Regions from separate parts of the Homo sapiens genome. Here region 2 is linked to region 1. Evidence: promoter capture Hi-C in 16 types of primary human blood cells and fetal thymus (Javierre and others, 2016). All regions are on one chromosome and are shown on one strand. The core of a region is centred on a gene start or on the middle of the fragment in contact, and the rest is flanking DNA. Distances in the headings are between cores, read along the strand shown.

What was found. Contacts are between HindIII fragments. The CHiCAGO score rates a contact against its expected background, and 5 or more counts as called.
Region 2: a fragment that was not itself captured here is called in contact with the fragment with the promoter of SLC25A45 in region 1 in 1 of 17 cell types (neutrophils); the score reaches 5.3 in neutrophils.

What each region holds. Positions count from the first base shown.
Region 1 is chr11:65,380,096-65,385,600 of GRCh38, reverse strand. It overlaps SLC25A45 (solute carrier family 25 member 45), which reads left to right and starts at 2,955. Exons shown (of 7, transcript NM_182556.4): 1 at 2,955-3,115; 2 at 3,632-3,686; 3 at 5,426-5,469. The coding sequence starts at 3,650. It also overlaps a transcript of FRMD8 not described here. RefSeq lists a silencer at 1,529-1,823 and enhancers at 1,735-2,261, 2,590-2,789, 2,800-3,109, 3,009-3,303, 2,790-3,317 and 4 more. The HindIII fragment of the contact is 16,084 bases long and covers 1-5,505 here.
Region 2 is chr11:65,563,258-65,568,762 of GRCh38, reverse strand. No RefSeq gene overlaps it. Among named protein-coding and RNA genes, the nearest start is that of ZNRD2-DT, 4.4 kb to the left of the region's middle. The HindIII fragment of the contact is 1,956 bases long and covers 1,651-3,606 here.

The sequences.
Region 1 (5,505 bases), core at 1,706-4,205:
TGCAACATGTGTGCATCTGAGATGTGGAACTCAGGGAGAAAAATAAGTCCATGGGGCACCTTCTGGGGCCAGAGGAACCAGAAGTTGTCCCAAGTGACAGCAGTGGGCTTGGTGATCAGGAACAGAGGGCAGTGGGTTCACTTTGCCCTGGTTCCCTGGGATTGGAAAGCAGCTCTAGCTCCTGACCCAGTCCAGCCTTCTTTGGTATGTGAACCAGCTCTGCCTGCCCTCCTATGATCCACACTGCCCCACAGCTGAGCCCATGACATCACATTTGCCTTGCCAATGTGACTTAAGGACTTGAGGAAGCTCAGATGTGGGCTGCAGGGAAGGGTGTCCAGTGGGGGCAGGCATCTCCTTCCTGGTTCTCAGCTCTGGGACCCTCAGACCAGGACACACTGTATCTCCATGGCCTCTTGACCCAGCTGGAGTGAAGCAGGAGCAGAAGAGTTCAGTGTTGTTTTGAATGCTTACTGGATGCGGGGCTTGTGCTAGGTCAGGGGATGGAGACTGAGGGGAGACGTGGCCCTGCCCTCAGAAAGTGTCTGTTGTGGTTTAATTGGTGAGTTAAGGAAGAGGGGAAAGAGAAAGAAGCCCAGGAGAACAGCACATTTAAAACCACAGCACTTTGGGAGGCCGAGGCAGGAGGATCGCCTGAGGCCAGGAGTTCAAGACCAGCCTGGGGAACATAGTGAGACGCCATCTGTAAAAAACCCAAAAATTAGCCAGGTGTGGTGGCACACATCTGTGGTCCTAGCCATTCAGGAGCCTGAGGTGGGAGGATCGCTGGAGCCCAGGAGTGTGAGCTCACAGTGAGCTCTGATAGCGCCATCCTGCCACTGTATTCCAGCCTGGACAACAGTGAGACTCTGTCTCCAAAAAAATAAATAAAACCACAGAAGATGACAGCATTGCCTTAAGAACTATGAAATGCTACAGGCAGGAAAAGTCTCTGCTCACTTGCTGTGTGTGGGGCACTGGGCCAGGCCCTTTCCCCTGTTTCCTGTGTCATTCTCATGCGTCCTGAGAGTGGAAATAAGTATTAGCAGTTGCCATTTACGTGCCAGCCACTTTTTAAAGTGCTTTAATCCTTAGAACTCACTAAGAGGTGAGTATCACATCTCTGTTTTATGTCAAAGACTGACACCTGGGAGTGTCTGCGGTGGTGGTGGGGAGGCTAGAACCCGGGTCTAGTCAAGGAGGGGCACTGGGAGAGAGTCCGGGAGGCTGATGGTGGGGAAGGAAAGGCATTCCAGGTAGTGGGAACTGCACGAGCATGGTTAGGACCCCAGGAAAGACCCCCGCTGTGTGAGAGCATAGCAGGTGGGTGGCACCATGGGGGAGGCCTTGAACCCCAGGATGACAGATATGGGGCAGGCGTGTTAGACAGTAAGAACATTTTGGAGGTTGTGAGCTAGAGATTCACAAGATGACGCCATGCTTAGGTGGGCTTCCCTTCAGCAAGGCTGTAGGGAAGTGGGAATGAGGGTCTTTCTCAAACTGGGGTGAGGCGGTGAGATTGGAAAAGAGAATGAGACCCATTCTGAAGTGAGGGAGGAGGCGGCCTCCAGCCTTTAGAGCTGAGAGGCTTAGACATCAATTAGCCCGACTGCTGTCCTACTTTGGCAAACAATAATAGACCCCAAGGCCCACAGAAGAGGTTGCTCAACATCACTGAGAGAGATAATGTAACCGCCCATTGGGTTCACCTTACCCTCTGCCTAGACAGAGCCAATTTGTCAAGACAGGGGAATTGCAATAAGGAGAGTTTAATTCATGCAGAGCTGGCTGTACGAGAGACAGGAGGGTTTTTTTTTTGTTTGTTTGTTTGTTTTTTTTTTTTGAGACGGAGTCTCGCTCTGTTGCCCAGGCTGGAGTATAGTGGCATGATCTTGGCTCACTGCAACAGCTGCCTCTCGGGTTCAAGCGATTCTCCTGCCTCAGCATCCCAAGTAGCTGGGACTACAGGCGCCCGTCATCACACCCGGCTAATTTTTGTATTTTTGGTAGAGATGGGGTTTCACTATGTTGGTCAGGCTGGTCTCGAACTCCTGACCTCAGGTGGTCCTTCCGCCTCGGCCTCCCAAAGTGCTGGGATTACAGGCGTGAGCCACTGCGCCTGGCCTGTATCAGTTATAGTTTTTGCAAAGGCAGTTTCAGGAATAAGAAGCAGAACCAGGACTGCAGCCCAAGCCACCACGAGAGGCCAGTCTTTGGGGATGGTCTTTTAGGATGATCTTTGGGGGTGGCCCAAGGAGCCCCAGGCAGCTCCAGAGGCAGGAGGTAGGAGGTCCTGTTTCCCGAATCTGTCCACCCGGGAGAAAGCAGCAGGGGTGGGTGGGTTCTGCCTTGGCCACAGTGAGAGGAGAAGGGAGAGAAGGACTGGGCCTTGGGCGTCCCCCATGGGAGACTAGGAGCTGCGGGGAGATCTGGAGGGGAGGGTGCAGGTGTCACTGGGCCTTGATGTTTCCCAGGGCCGTTTGGTGATGGGAAGAGGGAACTGGAGCCCCAGGCTGCCGCTGATGCTGCTGGCTGACATTTCCGTTCATTCAGTCACTCAGGATTTATTGAGAGCCCACCCTGTGCCACCCGCTGTGCACAGAACACCCAGAGATCCCTGTCCAGACAGACAAGTTCTTCCCATCGTATGTTGGCGTGATAACTGTGATGGAGAAAGAGAGGAAGAGCCAGCAGTGCCTCCGGCTGGGGAGGCGGGGCAGACCTCACCCAGGTGGTGACATTTGAGCCCCAGCTGGAGGGGTGCCAGGGCAAGAGTGCCCAGGAAGAGGGAAGAGCCAGTCCACAGGCCTGGAGACAGAAGGCTGACTGAAGAAGAGTCTGGAGGCTCGGGTGGCTGCAGCAGAGAAAGCAAGGGGGTGGGTGGCAGGACGTGAGGTCAGAGGAGAATGGGCGGCACCCTGTGGCTCACAGATCCTTGAAAGGGTTTTGGTTTTGACTGAGCAGAATGGTGCCATTGCAGATCAACACGCACTTTAAATAATCAAAACCCCTATCTTTCCCCTGGGAAGGAGGAAGCCGAGGAAGGCTGTGTTTCTGACTCACACGGGGGAGTCGGGGGAGTCGTAAACAACCCTGAAGAGAACAGCCAGGCCTGGTGAGTCACTCCTGGGAGTGGCTCCTCCCCACCCTGCCACGCAGCGGCAAATGCGGGCTGGGCCTACCCCCTGGTGGCCACGCTACCTCCGCACCCGGCCTCTCTCTGTGGCATGGGGGCGGCCATGCCCCTTGGTGGAGATGAATGGGAGTGGAGCTGGGCTGGCTGGGCAGGCAGGGGCTTGCCTCTTGCTGACTAAGGCAGCCCTGGAGGGGCCCGACCATGGGGCAGGAACCCAGTTGCCATCCTCAGAGCGAGGATCATTGGCCGGGCTCGGGGATCAGGGCCTCTGTGGTCCCGGCACGCCTGGCCCGTGAGACTGTACTCTGCACGACTCCTCCAGGTGGCCAGGGTCACCGGAACTGGCTCGCTCTCCTCTGCCAGTTGCCGGAGGTCTGGGCACCAGGCCAATTCTCACCTTCCCGCCAGGGTTAAACATTAGTGGGAGGTTATCAGCGTGGGCCAGGGGAGGGAGAGGGGGGAATTCAACTCTGTCTCCTCTGCTGGAGCCACCAGTTCCCGCAAGCCCAGACAATGCCGGTGGAGGAATTTGTGGCTGGCTGGATCTCTGGTGAGACATTTTTCTTCCTTCTGTCACATCACACCCAATGGTAGGTCACTTCCTCGGGAAGATGGGTGACATGGGAGGAGCAGAGACCAAAGTCTGAGTTCCGGCCTGGCGGGAGGATCACTTGAGCCCAGGAGTTTGAGACCAGTCTGGGCAACATAGGGAGGCCCCTGTCTCTACAAAAAAATCAAAATAATTAGCTGGGCATGGTGGCTCACACCTGTAGTCCCAGCTACTTAGGAGGATTGCTTGAGCTCAGGAGTTCAAGGCTGCAGTGAGCTATGACTGCACCACTGCACTCCAGCCTGGGTGACAGAATGAGACCCTGCCACAAAAAAAAAAAAAAAAAAAAAAAAAGAATCAGGGCATGGTGGCTCACACCTGTAATCCCAGCACTTTGCGAGGCTGAGGTAGGAGGATCACTTGGGGCCAGGAGTTTGAGACCAGCCTGGGCAACATAGGAAGACCCTGTCTTTATAAGAAATGAGAGGCTGGGCGCGGTGGCTCATGCCTGTAAGCCCAGCACTTTGGGAGGCTGAGGTAGGTGGATCATGAGGTCAAGATTTCGAGACCAGGCTGGCCAACATGGTGAAACCCCGTCTCTACTAAAAATACAAAAATTAGCCAGGCGCGGTGGCGCACGCCTGTGGTCCCAACTACTCCAGAGGCTGAGGTGGAAGGAGCCCTTAAGCTCAGGAGGTTGAAGCTGCAATGAGCCATGATCATGCCACTGCACTCCAGCCTGGACAACACCAGCAAGACCCTGTGTCAAAAAAAAAAAGTCTGGGTTCCGTGGAGCACCCCAGAGCCAGCTGTCCCCAGTCCTCTGGGGAGTGGCCGATGGGAAGAAGAGAGGAAGGCACAGGTGGGAGGGTGCTGCCTCTGCCTTCCAAGGCCACTCTGCCTGACACCTGCAGAGGGCGGGAGAGCCAGGTGAGCACCCTATACCTTGAGCCCTGCTCTCCAGGCCCACCCTGTTGGGCTTACAAAGGAAGTTCACCTTTGACCTCACCTGCTGTCCTGAGTCCCCTCTGGGCCTCTGCCCCACCTGGCTGTGGGCCGCAGTCCCGGGCCCTGAGGCCTGTTGTGCTGTGGTCCCAGCCCAGCTTCTGGGTGGCATTCCTCTTAGGAGAAAGAGAGGGACGTTCTGAACCTGCCTCCTGGGGGTGCGACCTCCCCCAAACTCCAGAACCAGCCTCTGCTGTGGAGGGCAGGGCTAGGCAGTGGGCAGGTGGAGGGGAGGGGAGAAGCTCCTCTGCAGGTGCCCAGGCATGACCCCCATCAGGGCCCTGCAGTTCTGCGTGGCCAGCTGGCAGCAGGGCCTGCTCTGGATCCCGGCGACGACATTATGAGTTGAAGAAAGAAGAGTAAAGCTCTCGGAGAGGTGGGAACCTGGGTGATTCTCCCAGAGTCCCGCGGCTCATAGGCGGTGGGATACCCGGGTATGGGCTCCAGCGAGGACACGTACGTCTTTGGCTGGCTCTTCCCTCTTGGGTGTGCATCCTCAGGTGGGGCCTGGGGTCTTAGTCCCTTGTCCCAGTGCCTTCCTGGCCCAGTGCCTGTGTGGAGGGGGTGGCAGGGGCAGCTGGAGTCTCTAGAGCTTGGCAGGAAGGTGGCTGCATGTGTCTGAGATGGCCCTGCTCTCCTTCCTCCTGCCTGAACCCCTCTTTCCTCTTGGCACAGACTTGCTTCCTGGGCCTGGCACGAGGGCCCTCACTCATAGCACCCTCTTGTCACCACAGGCGCTCTGGGCTTGGTCCTGGGACACCCGTTTGACACTGTAAAGGTGAGTTTAGGAGAGCTGCCAGAGGAATGAAAGATC
Region 2 (5,505 bases), core at 1,379-3,878, 180 kb before region 1:
CTGCCCGATACTGTGGCTCACGCCTGTAACCCCAGCACATTGGGAGGCCGAGGCGGGCAGATGTCTTGAGATCAGGAGTTCAAGACCAGCCTGGCCAACATAGTGAAACCCCTTCTCTACTAAAAATACAAAAATTAGCCAGGTGTGGTGGCGGGCGCCCGTAATCCCAGCTACTCGGGAGGCTGAACCAGGAGAATTGCTTGAACCGGGAGGCAGAAGTTGCAGTGAGCCGAGATCACACCACTGCACTCCAGCCTGGGCAACAGAGTGAGACTCTATCTAAAAAAAAAAAAAGCCATTTGGCATCTCCCATCACACTTAGACAAAAATCCAAAGTCCTTGTTATGGTCTCCAAGGTCCTATAAATCTGGTCCTTGACCCCCCAAATCCAGACAACACATAGAGAGATGCACACACATCTCCCATCCTTCCTGCATCCCTCTTCTCCCACTGCTCAAGAGGACTCTTGTCCCTTTTCTCCTCTCAGGGCCTCTCACCATCTTAAGTTCCACTGTAGGGTGGACAAGACGCAGAACTGGAATGAGGCAGGCCTGGGTTTGATCCTGGATCTATTTACTGTATCACCTGGAGTAGTTTACTTCATCGCTGTGGACTTCAATTTCTCATCTGTAAAACAGGGCCAGTAGACCAGGTGCTGTGGCTCACACCTATAATCTCAGCACTCTGGGAGGACATGCAGGAGGATTGCTTGAGACCAGCCTGGACAGCATAGTAAGAACCCATCTCTAAGAAATATATGTATTTTTTAAATTAGCTGGTGCAGTAGCATGCACTTGTAGTCCCAGCTACTCAGGAGGCTGAGTGGGAGGATTGCTCCCAGCCCAGGAGATCCAGGCTGCAGTGGGCCATGATCAGGCTTCTGCATTGCAACCTGGGTGACAGAGCGAGACCCTGACTCAAAATAAAAATGGGGCCACTTATGCCTATTTGTTGCTTGTTTGTTTTTTGAGATGGAGTCTCTGTCACCCAACCTGGAGTGAAGTGGCGCAATTCTCGGCTCACTGCCACCTCCACCTTCCAGGTTCAAGCAATTCTTGTGCCTCACCCACTGGAGTGGGATTACAGGCATGCGCCACCACAGCTGGCTAATTTTTTTTTTTTTTTTGAGACGGCATCTTGCTCTGTTGCCCAGGCTGGAGTGCAATGGTGCGATCTCGGCTCACTGCAAGCTCTGCCTCCTGGATTCACGCCATTCTCCTGCCTCAGCCTCCCAAGTAGCTGGGACTACAGGCACCTGCCACCACGCCCGATTAATTTTTTTTGCATTTTTAGTAGAGACAGGATTTCACTGTGTTAGCCACGATGGTCTCGATCTCCTGACCTCGTGATCTGCCCGTCTCGGCCTCCCAAAGTGCTGGGATTATAGGCATGAGCCACCGCGCCCAGCCAATTTTTTAAATTTTTATTTCTAGTAGAGACGGTGTTTCACCATGTTGGCCAGACTAGTCTCAAGCTCCCGACTTCAGGTGATCTGCCCACCTCAGCCTCCCAAAGTGGTAGGATTACAGGCCTGAGCCACCGCGCCAGCTTCAAAGATGTTTATCTAGGGAACAGCTATGGAAGATGGAGATAGTGTCTCCCTCCAGAGCAAAGGACAGCCATGCTTACTGGCTTTGAGTTTCCTAAGCTTAGGGTCCTCTCCCACAATGTAATTCGCTCTGTGTGCCCACACTTGCCTGAGCCCATCAGCATCACCCCCATGGGACTTAGGGTCAAAAGGAACTAACGGAAATATGCTGGTGCTCATGCTGTTTGCTGCACAGCGATCAAGTCCTTTGTCTCTGACCCAGGACTCTCCTGTATTCTGCCAGCATTCTTGAACCTGACGGGCTACCTTGGTAGCTTGCAAGTGGGTAAGATCTCAGATGCTTCACAGTCCTTGACATAGAAGGTGCTCACAGGTGTTGGTGGTAAAACCTATTCGCAGCAGTCACAGTGGACAGGCCAGTGTCTGTGGAGCAATGGGCTTGGGCTCTTTCACACCCTTCCCTTGCCGACAATATATCACACCTTCAGCCAGGCATGGTGGCTCACAACTTTAATCCCAGCACTTTGGGAGGTCAAGACTGGCAGATCACTTGAGGTCAGGAGTTCGAGACCAGCCTGGCCAACATAGTGAAACCCCATCTCTACTAAAAATACAAAAACTAGCTGGGCATGGTGGTGCGAGCCTGTAGTTCCAGCTACTCATGAGGCTGAGACGGGAATTGCTTGAACTGGGAGGCGGAGGTTGCAGTGAGTGGAGATCCTGCCACTGCACTCCAGCCTGGGCAACAGAGCATGGAGTCAGGGAAGAGAAAGGAGGGAAAGGAGGAGGGGGAGGGGGAGGGAAGGGAATCACAGTTTCATGTGAGCCAGTCCAAATTGGTCCCTCCTTGTGGCACTGATGACATGGCTGTAGTTAGGCTCTTTTCTGGGTGATAGAGCACCCCACAGCAGCTCAGTCATGCACAGCTCAATTACAGCTCCCCCTGGGCTGGCTGATTTGGTGGGGATGGTTCACATGGCAACAAGTGGCCTATGCCATGTTGCCTGGCCTCTGAAAAACGTAACTTATCATTTGTATTTTCACACAGGCACTGAAAAGGGGTCAGCTATTCTTTTTTTTTTTTTTTTTTTTTTGGTTTTCACTGCAATGTGAATCACCTTGACATTTCTGTGAAACAGGAAGTGGCTGGATGATACAACAATAAAAATAATCACACTCAACTTGGTGTGTGTGTTTTCTTTGGGCCAGGCACTGTGTTAAGAGCTCTTTATGAAGTATTTCGCTTATTCCTTAGGACAACACTGGCAGCTAGGTCTTATCATCATTCCCAATTTGCAAATGAGGAGGCTGAGGCCTGGAGTAGTGAGAGATGTATCCACAGTCACCCAGTTGGGAGTGGCAGGGCTGGGGCTCCCGGCTGGCAGCCAGTGTACCTCTTGAGCCTGAGCTCTTACCAGTAGATTTCTCCCGTGCTCAAAAGGCGGGGAAGAGTGGCAGGGCAGAAGGGCCCCCTGATTTATCAAGCGTGAAGGTAGTTTCATCTCATTTCCAATCCCAACTCTCAGTGTCCATCGTTTTACTACCCACAGTAAGTGGCACATTAGAGGGGTTTAATAGCCACTTTCAGTAAAGTGTCTTTGGAGAGAAATGCTTTAGGGCAACCTTGTCCCCTCCAGGCCTTCATCACTTCCATCCCTCATCTTTAAAGCTGATGAGCAAGGCCGGGCGCAGTGGTTCATGCCTGTAATCCCACACTTTGGGAGGCCGAGGCGGGCAGATCACCTGAGGCCAGGAGTTCGAGATCAGCCTGACCAACATGGTGAAACCTCATCTCTACTAAAAATACAAAAATCAGTTGGGAGTGGTGGTGGTGGCTGCCTGTAATCCCAGCTACTCAGGAAGCCGTGACACAAGAATCGATTGAACCCAGGAAGTGGAGGCTGCAGTGAGCTGAGATTGTGCCACTGCACTCCAGCCTGGCAACAGAGTGAGACTCTGTCTCAAAAAAAAAATAAAACTGATGAGTGTGACCCCCTTCCCTTCTACCCACCCACCCCCTCGCCAAGAGCCATTTCTTTCTTCAGAGCCCAGAAGCTTCCCAAAGACATTCAGAACTCAGAGGGACAACACATGGAGGCGGCACAGCCTCTGACACACAGTCAGCCCTCGTGGCACGGTGGCTCTCCACCAGCAGCCCGTCTCTCACCACCCTGCCCATCTTGGCTTGCAGATCCAGACAATGATGAAAAGGTCTCACATATCCTGAGTGCTTACTATTTGGCAGGCATCTGCTAAGGGCTTCATAAATATCAGCCCACTGATTCCCTGCTTATTTTTATTTTTATTTTTATTTTTGAGACAGAGTCTCATTCTGTCGCCCAGGCTGGAGTGCAGTGGCACGATCTCGGTTCACTGCAACCTCTACCTCCTGAGTAGCTGGGATTACAGGCGTGTACCACCACATCCAGCCAATTTTTGTATTTTTGGCAGATGGAGTTTCACCATGTTGGCCAGGCTAGTCTCGAACTCCTGACCTCAAGTGATCCACCCACCTCGGCCTCCCAAAGTGCTGGGATTACAGGTGTGAGCTACCACACCCGGACTTCCCTGTTAATTTTTTTTTTTTTTTTTGGTGGGGGGGAACGGGGTCTTGCTCTGTTGCCAGGCTGGAGTGCAGTGGCGCAATCTCGGCTCACTGCAACCTCTGCTTCCTGGGTTCAAGCAATTCTCCTGCCTCAGCCTCCTGAGGACTAAGACGCGCACCACCACGTCTGGCTAATTTTTGCATTTTTAGTAGAAATGGGGTTTCACCATGTTGGCCAGGATGGTCTCAATCTCCTGACCTTGTGATCCATCCACCTCGGCCTCCCAAAGTGCTCGGATTACAGGCGTGAGCCACCGTGCCCGGCCTTTTTTTTTTTTTTTTTTTTTTGAGACAGAGTCCCACTCTGTCACCCAGGCTGGAGTGCAGTGGCGCCATCTCGGCTCACTGCAGCCTCTGCCTCCTGGGTTCAAGCGATTCTTGTGCCTCAGCCTCCCAAGCAGCTGGAATACAGGTGTGCGCCACCACACCCAGCTAATGTTTTGTATTTTTAGCAGAGACAGGGTTTCGCCATGTTGGCCAGGCCGGTCTCGAACTCCTGGCCTCAAGCAATCTGCTCACCTCGGTCTCCCAAAGTGCTGAGATTACAGGCATGAGTCACTGAGACTGGCCTCATTCCCTGTTTAAAAATGAGGAAAGCCAGGTGCAGGGTTGTGTGCCTGTAATCACAGCTACTCAGGAGGCTGAGCGGGAAGGATCACTTGAGGCCAGGAGTTTGACTCTATATTGACGGAGCAATATACAGAGACTGTCTCTAAAAAAAAGGAAGGGTAGGGGGTTGAGGACTGAGGCACAGAGAAGTTGAAGAATTTTCCCAATTCACTTAGCTGGTGCATGACACAGCCAGTATGATCTAATGCTAGAAAACAACCACTGCAATGCGGCCTCCTGAGACAGAACTTTCATCATGCAGCTGCTGTCACCCTGTCCAGCCAATCCCTTAACATGGCATCAGGAGCCCTGAGTTCAGGTTCTGGCTCTGCTGATGGCTGGCTGTGTAACCTTCGTCAAGTCCCATATCTTCTCTGGGCTTCAAGAACCCAAGAACCTCAAGAACATTTGACTAGCCCGAACATTCCCTGGGCCTGGGTCCTATTCCTCCTCCTTGTCCCATTCCAGCAAAGCCCCTCATTGCCCTCAGGGTCCTACCCACCTATCTTCAGGACATTTGTGAGCAAATGTCAGGGCTCCTGATGCCTTCAGGACACCTCTCATTCCTCTCCCCAGGATCATTGTATATATAGGTTCTGGATCAGGCAGGCTTGGGTTCAATCACCAGGTGACCTGAGTCCAGTTGGTTTGTTTGTTTGTTTTTGTTTTTTGAGACAGAGTCTCTGTCTGTCACCGAGGCTGGAGTGCAGTGGCGCTATCTCGGCTCACTGCAAGCTCCGCC